Linked DNA regions of Homo sapiens: regions 2 and 3 are each linked to region 1. The links are contacts of gene promoters, found by promoter capture Hi-C in blood cells and fetal thymus (Javierre and others, 2016). All regions are on one chromosome and are shown on one strand. Each heading gives the region's core, a stretch centred on a gene start or on the middle of the fragment in contact. The rest is flanking DNA. Distances are from core to core; before and after follow the strand shown. Region 1 holds the start of SUMF1 (sulfatase modifying factor 1). Region 2 has its middle 13 kb from the start of BHLHE40-AS1. Region 3 has its middle 4.1 kb from the start of EDEM1.

Region 1 (2,775 bases), core at 159-2,658:
AAGGGGAGAGAAAGAGGAGATCAGGTAAAACCTACTGTGGATGTTACCTCTCACCTAAGTCCTAAATATTGGTCAGGATTAACCCAAAGGAAAGAAAAATGGAATGGGAAAAGGATAGTGTCTGCTAAGTAAACAAGAAGGAGCACTAGTTTAGGAGTCAGAAGACCTGACCTTTAGACCCATAAGTTGTTTCGACAACACATCAATATGCAAAATACCGGGCAGACAGATTGAAGTAACAGTTATTTCTTTCTTTCTTTTTTTTTTTCGAGACGGAGTCTCGCCCTGTCGCCCAGGCTGGAGTGCAGTGGCAAGATCTCGGCTCACTGCAACCTCCGCCTCCCGGGTTCCAGCAATTCTCCTGCCTCAGCCTCCCGAGTAGCTGGGATTACAGGCGCCCGCCACCACGCCCGGCTAATTTTTGTATTTTTAGTAGAGACGGGGTTTCGCCATGTTGGCCAGGCTGGTCTCGAACTCCTGACCTCGTGATCCGCGCGCTTCGGCCTCCCAAAGTGCTGGGATTACAGGCATGTGAGCCACCGCGCCCGGCCAGTAAGTTATTTATATATCCCGGCACCTAACACATACAGGCGCTAAGCAAGACAGATAAATAATAGCAATAAAACAACTACAGTTTGCTTAGCCCTTCCTAAGTGCTAAAGTGCTAAGAATAGCAGGATAAACAATTCAAGCCCTTGTCCTCAAGCAGAGTGTACTCGAGGAGACTACAGATAAGTATACAACAACCCTGGTGAAGATACTGAGACCCAGGATCCTAATTTATTCCGTTAATAAGAGAGGAAATGGTGATTTAAACCATAATTTGATTGCCTTAAAATTATGAGATCCTCATTAAGAGAACAGGTTGGAGGGAGAAAGAAATAGGGGGTAAAGAAGTAACAATAACCCTCAAACCAAACTCCCTAATGGTCAATTAAATGGAGTCTTCCGGTGAGGCACGGAGAAGGAACTCCTCATACGGGAACAGCAGGTGCTCGATTTGGGGTGTGGTTATAACCTTTACTTCCCTTCCTACTAGTGCCTTGCTTTGCCTACTCCAACCCCGTCCAGGAACCGAGCAGCCCCCACCCGCCTCGGAGGAATCGATGGAGCACCTTTGAGTGCGCGAGTTGCCGCTCTCCGGGTACGGGGCCCGGAGCGTTAGCCTCCCGCGAGTATCGGTGAGCGGCTGCCGAACTGCCATGGGCGCCAGGCCGCTGGGGCGTGCCGCAGCCGCAAGAACCCGCAAGGGACCCCGCGCCCGCACCGGTCCCGGCCTCCTGGCTCCCTGCCGCTCCACACAGCAGCGAGAGCAGCAGCAGCAAGAGGACGAGACCCAGCTCAGGGCAACGTCCACACACCAGCCCTAGTGCGGGCGCAGCCATGTTGTCCCGCGGGCCATGTGACCCGGTTGGTCACGTGGCTGAGCCCTCCTTAAAGGGGCAGAATTTTGAGCTGACTTACGAAGTGACCAGGAGAGTTGCTCTTCACCTTTCTTCAGGTACTTCTTTGGCGCTGCTGCTTGCCTGTGCTAACGTCAAAACGCAGCAAAACACAAAACTCCACAAAACTCAAGGCCTTCCACAGACCGTGCACCCCTTTATGATTTCTTGGTTGAAAAATAACAGTCAAATTTGCTGGGCATTTGGTAAGTGCCAGAGTACTATGCTAAGCACTTCACTTTTTAAAATCTCATTTAATCCTCACAAAGACCCAGTAATGGCGCGCTTGTAGTCCCAGCTAGTCGGGAGGCCAAGGCAGGAGAATCGTTTGAACCTGGGAGGCGGAGGTTTCAGTGAGCCCAGATCCCGCCACTGCACTCCAGCCTCGGCGACAGAGCAAGACTCCGTCTCAAAAAAAAAAGAGAAATACAATACGGAATCAGAATCCGTGGGGACTGGACACAGCAATCCAGGGTTTCACAAGCTCTCCAGATGATTCTAATCCACACTTAAGTTTAAGAACCACTGTTCTACAGTTCCGTAATCGAACAAAATGCAAAACCAAAACAAAAAGAAGATGAAGGAGAAACTTACAGATTAAAAAACAACATAGCAGGCCGGGCGCGGTGGCTCAAGCCTGTAATCCCAGCACTTTGGGAGGCCGAGGCGGGTGGATCACGAGGTCAGGAGATCGAGACCATCCTGGCTAACACGGTGAAACCCCATCTCTACTAAAAAATACAAAAAATTAGCCCGGCGTGGTGGCACGCGCCTGTAGTCCCAGCTACTCGGGAGGCTGAGGCAGGAGAATGGCATGAATCCGGGAGGTGGAGCTTGCAGTGAGCCGAGATGGCGCCACCGCACTCCAGCCTGGGGACAGAGCAAGACTCCATCTGAAAAAAAAAAAAAAAAAAAAAACATAGCAGCCAGCTGCAATATGTGAACCTTATCTAAATACTAATTCAAACCTACTGAGTTCAAAATTTTTGAGATAATCAGGGAAATTTAACCACTAAGTCAAATTATAATATTTGATAAAATTAAGGAATTGCTGTAAATTTTGTTTTTAGGCTTTTAGGAGTAATAATGGTATTTGTGGCTATATTTTTTAAAAGAATCCCCTCACTGAGGTACACACACACTCACTGAGGTATACACACACACACACACACACACACACATATATATATATGGATAAAAATATAGGCAGTCAAAGATTTGCTTCCCAAAAAATGGGTAATCAGGGTCTGGCTAAAGATGAAGCATGATTGGCCATGAGTTGATAACTGTCATAGCTGGTTGATGGGCATCTGGGTGTTTATTGCACTATTCT
Region 2 (2,701 bases), core at 177-2,676, 530 kb after region 1:
CACGTGAATACATAGAAAGGCTTTTAATTCTTTTTCACAACTGTGCGTATCTCATTGTATAGATGTCCTATAATTTACTTGACTAGTTCCCTATTATGAACATCTGGATTATTTTTTATCTTTTGCTATCACCAGCAGGGTTGCAATGAGTAATTTTATACACAGGTCATTTTGCAAGCGTATAACAGTATTTATGGGGTAAACTCCCACATGGAATTGCTGGGTCAATGTCATGAGCATCTGTCATTCTGATGGGTATCATTCCGTGGGACACAGGTCATACTCCTTTAGAACCCAACGTTGTTGCCTGTCTTGGAGGCATTTGCAAGAGATGTCGGAAAGCTTAGAATATGTATATCTTGAGACCAAATGATTCCACTTCTAGGAGTTATCCTAAATACGATTTTTAAAATTAATTAATTTTTAAATAAAAAATAGAGACAGGGTTTTGCTATGTTGACCAGGCTGGTCTCCAGCTCCTGACCTCAAGCAATCCTCTTGTCTTGGCCTCCCAAAGTGCTGGGATTATAGGCCCGAGCCACCATGCACAGCCAAGAAGTTATTAAACAGGTTTTCAAAGACTAAGCTACAAGATTGGACGTCCTGTGCCATTCATAGGTAAAACAAACAAGGAGGAAAGAAGGGAGGGACAGAGGGAAGGAGAGAATAAGGAAATCAGAAAGATGGCTGAGAAGGAGACTGGTTGAGTAACTTACAGTATGTGCAAGTGCTGGAATGCTAAATAGTCATGAAAAATTATGTTAGGAAAGTAAATTGATTATTGTTTATTTGTTGTAAAGGGAGGAAAAGTAGGCCACAAAATAGTATGTTCAGACTTATCCCATTTTTGAAAAAGAATAATATGTGTGCTTCTAAATGTTCTCTCTGCCTCACTTTGAACAACTGTAAAATGAGGACAATAGTAATTGGCCTACTGAGTTGTGAGGATTAAATGAGTTTCAATGTCTAAGATGCTTAGAACAGTGTCTAGCACAGAGAAAGCTCCATGTCAGGGTTAGCTAAAATTAGTGTTATTGTTATTATTTTTTAGTAATTGTATTATAGTTACAGAGGAAAAAGGTCTGGCAGGCAATACAATAAAATTTTAACCACCTTAGCAGGATTTAGAATTATTGGTTATTGTTCCTTTAAGAATTTTTGCTTTTCTATATTTTCTTTTTTTTTTATTTTACAATGAACATGGTATTTCTGTAATATAGATCATGAAGTGCAACAGAATAAGTGGAGTGGGGGACAAGAATGGAGTTCAAGGTTGTCATGGACATCTGTATCCAGCAGTCCCAGGGGATGATGTGGAAAGGAGAGGCAGGATGCTTTTTTGGTTTTGCCAGCTCAGCCCTGGGCAGGGCCAGCCCTACACCCTGGGAAGAAGGCAACTCCCTTCAAAGGGTGAGTGGAAGATCTAGAGAAAGCTCTCCCTACCCACATGCACATAGGAGCTTTTAACAAGGACCTTAACAATTAGAGAGATGACAAAAGTTTCAAAACAGGTGCAAAGACACTCAATAGGCTGTGAGGGTCCTGGGATGGGGGCTCTAACTCATTCACTGCAGCGCTCCCAGTGCCTAGCTTGAAACAAAGCTGAAATTCAGTCAGTGTTTCCTGAATGAACAAGTGAATCTAGACTCTGCTGTGTGACCTTGGGAAAGTTCTTTCACCTTCCTGAATCTGTTTCCTTATCCATCAAATGGGGATATTAGTGATCTTGTAGAGATTGCCGTGAGGATGAAAAGAAATCCTTATGTAGAATATACAGCATCTAGCTACAGTCAGGTATGTGGTAGGTGCTCAAGCATTTGCTGATTAAATGAATGAAAGGAGCCTGGGCAACATAGCAAAAACTCTGTCTCTACAAATAAAAATTAAAACATTAGCCAGTCATGGTGATACGGACCTGTAGTCCCAGCTACTCAGGAGGCTAAGGTGGGAGGATCTTAGCCTGCAGTGAGCCATGACCACGCCACTGTACTCCAGCCAAGGTGACAGAGTGAGGCCCCATCTCAAAATAAAACTTTAATTTAATTTAAAAATAAAAGAAAATAAAAAAATAAATGAAAAGAAAGAATGACATTTATAGGAACATATTCACTCTAAAGTGTAAGTAACTGACATAACATTATTTCCTGAAAGATGCTTTGTAGAGGGAAAAGCTGAAAGAGATCTCATACACACACACACACACACACACATATATATACACACACACATATATATATGTCTGTGTGTATGAGATCTCTCTGATATATATATATATATCAGACTGTGTGCTAAGTACTGTACTAGGCACTATGCATACATTATCTGGTGCAATCTCCATTTTTACATTTACAGAAATTGAGACTCAGTGAGATTAAGTGACTCACCCAAGGTCACACAGCAAGCAGATGGCACAGACAGGATTTAACTCAACATATGACTCAAAAGTCCTTGCTGAAAGAGCCCAGGATGTCAAAATGGACAGAGGCATGAGGAGGGAAGAGGGTCAGAGATAAGCTTCCCACTCTGTGCACACTGCTGAATTACCCATTAGGTAGACCTAGTGTGTGCTGAAAACACTGGGAAAGCAGCCCCAGCTTCCTTCCATCTCCCCAAAATTGGAAAATAATTTCTTTTTGATATTTCAAAGAAAAACATGGAGATCATCTTATGATTAAAATCAAGGGCTTATTGGGGTTTCTCT
Region 3 (2,976 bases), core at 377-2,876, 720 kb after region 1:
ATTTATTATTCCATTCTATTAACCAGCCCTCTCTTCAGTAAGATAATTCTATTTTGAAATCCCAAGGCATCTGGCATTTAGGTAATGCAGATTTCCCAATAATCAGGAGGGGGAAAAGATACTTTAGCTTCATTTTACTGGGGCTTACAGTAGGGATGTAGGAAAAGAGTTGTTAGCTTACGATGCTAATATAGCTTAATTCTGTGGAGAGTACTGGGTTGGCATTTGGGAGAATGGGTTCTTTCCTTGGCCATTAACTGACTGTGTGACTGGTGAGTTGCAGAACCCCCTCATGGCTCCTTAAGTTTTCCCATCTATAAAATGAACAGGAGAGGATTTCTAACCATAACTTCTGCCACTGACAGGCTGATTCTAGCAGCCTAGAAATTTGCTTGGTGGTTAAAAAGAGATACAAAAACACCGATTTGGCCTAGTGAATATGTTAATATTACATGTTCCTTCAATAGAAGGTAATTCAAAAATACAGAAATATTTACATGTTACAACTTTAAATTTTAGCACAAAAGCTGGAGATTGCAGACATTTTACAGAATGATACAGTAAATTTATTTTGTTTGAAGGAAATTCTGTAAATATACCGGCTTATATTTTGAAAGGCATTTACAAATTTTAGAACATTTTCCCCAGACTGCAGAAAATGTTTGGTATGCACTCCAGAAAAGTGTATATACCTACTACCAATTTGAGGGTAGGTGGTTTAGAGCTAAGGTTTAATCCTTTATAACTGCTGTGTTGCTGGGTTTTTGGGGGTTTTTTTGTTTGTTTGTTTTGAGATGGAGTCTCACTCTGTTGCCCAGGCTGGAGTGCAGTGGCGCCATCTCAGCTCACTGCAAGCTCCGCCTCTCGGGTTCCCGCCATTCTCCTGCCTCAGCCTCCCGAGTAGCTGGGACTGTAGGCGCCCGCCGCCACGCCTGGCTAATTTTTTAATATTTTTAGTAGGGACGGGGTTTCACCATGGTCTCGATCTCCTGACCTTGTGATCCGCCCACCTCAGCTTCCCAGAGTGCTGGGATTACAGGTATGAGCCACCATGCCCGGCCAGCTAGGTTCTGCTAGAATTTATCCAGAGCTTTGGAGAAACCTGGAATGGTTAGAAAATACTACTCTTAAAAGTAAAGGGGCTGGAGGACCAACAAAACCATTGTATCCCCTTTTGGACTTGGGAAGTAGAACATTAACCACTTGCTAATTATAGCATCTCCCTTAACCAATTCTTATCTACAATTGTGACTTACCCTCAGTGTTGTACAATGTGTATCACACAATGTGCTAGCTTGTTTCTGTGGCTTAAGAGAATTCACCATTTCTATCTACTACCCAATAGGTGAATTAGATAACTCTTCCATTTGTATATTTTATTCTGTAAGAAAAATTCAAATTGCTCTTATTTGTCATACTATTAGCTAATTTATAAGCGCTAGCCCTCATTCAAAGAAGGGTTAAGGATTTATAGAATTCCTATATTCTCTGGAAGCATCAGTAACCTAAAGGCTAGAGCATGGTATGGGCATGTGCATGATGAATATTTTTGATGTATAGTTCATATATTTGTTTCAGTGGTTTGGTGTTAGAACTGCTAGAAGGGAATCTCACTATCTTTTCTTCCTTTTTGAGATAGTCTTGCTCTGTCATCAGGCTGGAGTTCAGTGGCGCAATCTCGACTCACTGCAACGTCCGCCTCCTGGGTTCAAGCAATTCTCCTACCTCAGCCTCCCAAGTAGCTGGGACTACGGGCATGTGCCACTATGCCAAGCTGATTTTTGTAGTTTTAGTGCAGATGGGGTTTCACCATGTTGGCCAGGCTAGTCTTGAACTCTGACCTCAAGTGATCCACCCGCCTCAGCCTCCCAAAGTGCTGGGATTACCGGCGTGAGCCACCGCGCCTGGCGACTTGTGCTAACGTTAAACCAAAATTATGGGGGGTCATTGTTTGTGGACTGAGTTTCTGCACTAGGTCCTAGCAGACCAAAGTAGTTACATATATTAAGTGCCACACAGTTACATGGAAACTTTACAGACCAGTTTTTCCTGAAAACAGAAAATCCCAGTCTGTCTGAATCAGAATAATAAGGAAGTCCCTTCTTCTTTAACCCTTAAAAAAAAAGTAACCCGATGTTAACCAATCAGTTATTTTTCATTGTTTTGTTTCCTTGCTCTCATCTTACAAAACCCACTATTCTGCTGTTTCTCATTGGGAGCTTTCATTCTGTTTTGTAGAATGGAGGCTGCCCCATTCATAAGTTATGAATAAACGCCAGTTAGATCTGTAAGTAAATTTGTTGTAATTTTTTTCTGACACTAGGAATTGCCAAATGACCCTTCACACGGGAAGTACTAGTTTTTGTTTTTACCAGTCCCAGTCCCCTATGCCTTTTTAAAAAAGAGATGAAGTCTCACTGTTACCCAGGTAATTGCATTGGCTATTTACAGCCACGATCATAGGAAACGCAGCTTCAAACTACTGGCTCAGGGGATCTTCCTGCCTCAGCCTCTCGAGTATCCTGTATCTTGCTAACAGAGCATGTTGACAAACTTGGATTTGTGCCCATCAAATAAGTTTGAACTGTAATTATATACTTTTTTTTAGGCCTTCAGCTTTGCAAAACCTCTGCTTTTGAAATACTTTTTTTTTTTTGAGACGCAGTCTCACTCTCTTGCCCAGAATGGAGTGTGGTGGCGCTATCTCAGCTCACTGCAACCTCTGCCTCCTGGATTCAAGTGATTCTCGTGCCTCAGCCTCCTGAGTATCTGGGATTACAGACGCCCACCACCACGCCCGGGTAGTTGTATTTTTAGTAGAGATGGGGTTTCATCATTTTGGCCAGGTTGGTCTTGAACTCCGGACCTTAAGTGATCTGCCTGCCTTGGCCTCCCAAAGTTCTGGGATTACAGGTGTGAGCCACCACGCCCAGCCGGGTGCTAGTTTTAAAAGTTTCAGAGTTGAAAAGTATTAAT

Evidence for each region. The method cuts DNA at HindIII sites, captures the fragments that hold promoters and counts their contacts. A CHiCAGO score of 5 or more calls a contact.
Region 2: a fragment that was not itself captured here is called in contact with the fragment with the promoter of SUMF1 in region 1 in 1 of 17 cell types (neutrophils); the score reaches 6.6 in neutrophils.
Region 3: a fragment that was not itself captured here is called in contact with the fragment with the promoter of SUMF1 in region 1 in 1 of 17 cell types (total CD8 T cells); the score reaches 5.1 in total CD8 T cells.

Annotation. Positions count from the first base shown.
Region 1 is chr3:4,465,861-4,468,635 of GRCh38, forward strand. It overlaps SUMF1 (sulfatase modifying factor 1), which reads right to left and starts at 1,409. Exons shown (of 9, transcript NM_182760.4): 1 at 1,116-1,409. The coding sequence starts at 1,385. LOC124909340 (a long non-coding RNA gene) reads left to right here and starts at 964. Exons shown (of 2, transcript XR_007095789.1): 1 at 964-1,648. RefSeq lists a silencer at 1,106-1,285 and an enhancer at 1,456-1,635. The HindIII fragment of the contact is 8,038 bases long and covers 1-2,775 here.
Region 2 is chr3:4,992,092-4,994,792 of GRCh38, forward strand. No RefSeq gene overlaps it. Among named protein-coding and RNA genes, the nearest start is that of BHLHE40-AS1, 13 kb to the left of the region's middle. RefSeq lists an enhancer at 2,480-2,701. The HindIII fragment of the contact is 2,172 bases long and covers 341-2,512 here.
Region 3 is chr3:5,182,139-5,185,114 of GRCh38, forward strand. No RefSeq gene overlaps it. Among named protein-coding and RNA genes, the nearest start is that of EDEM1, 4.1 kb to the right of the region's middle. RefSeq lists an enhancer at 1-4. The HindIII fragment of the contact is 4,107 bases long and covers 1-2,976 here.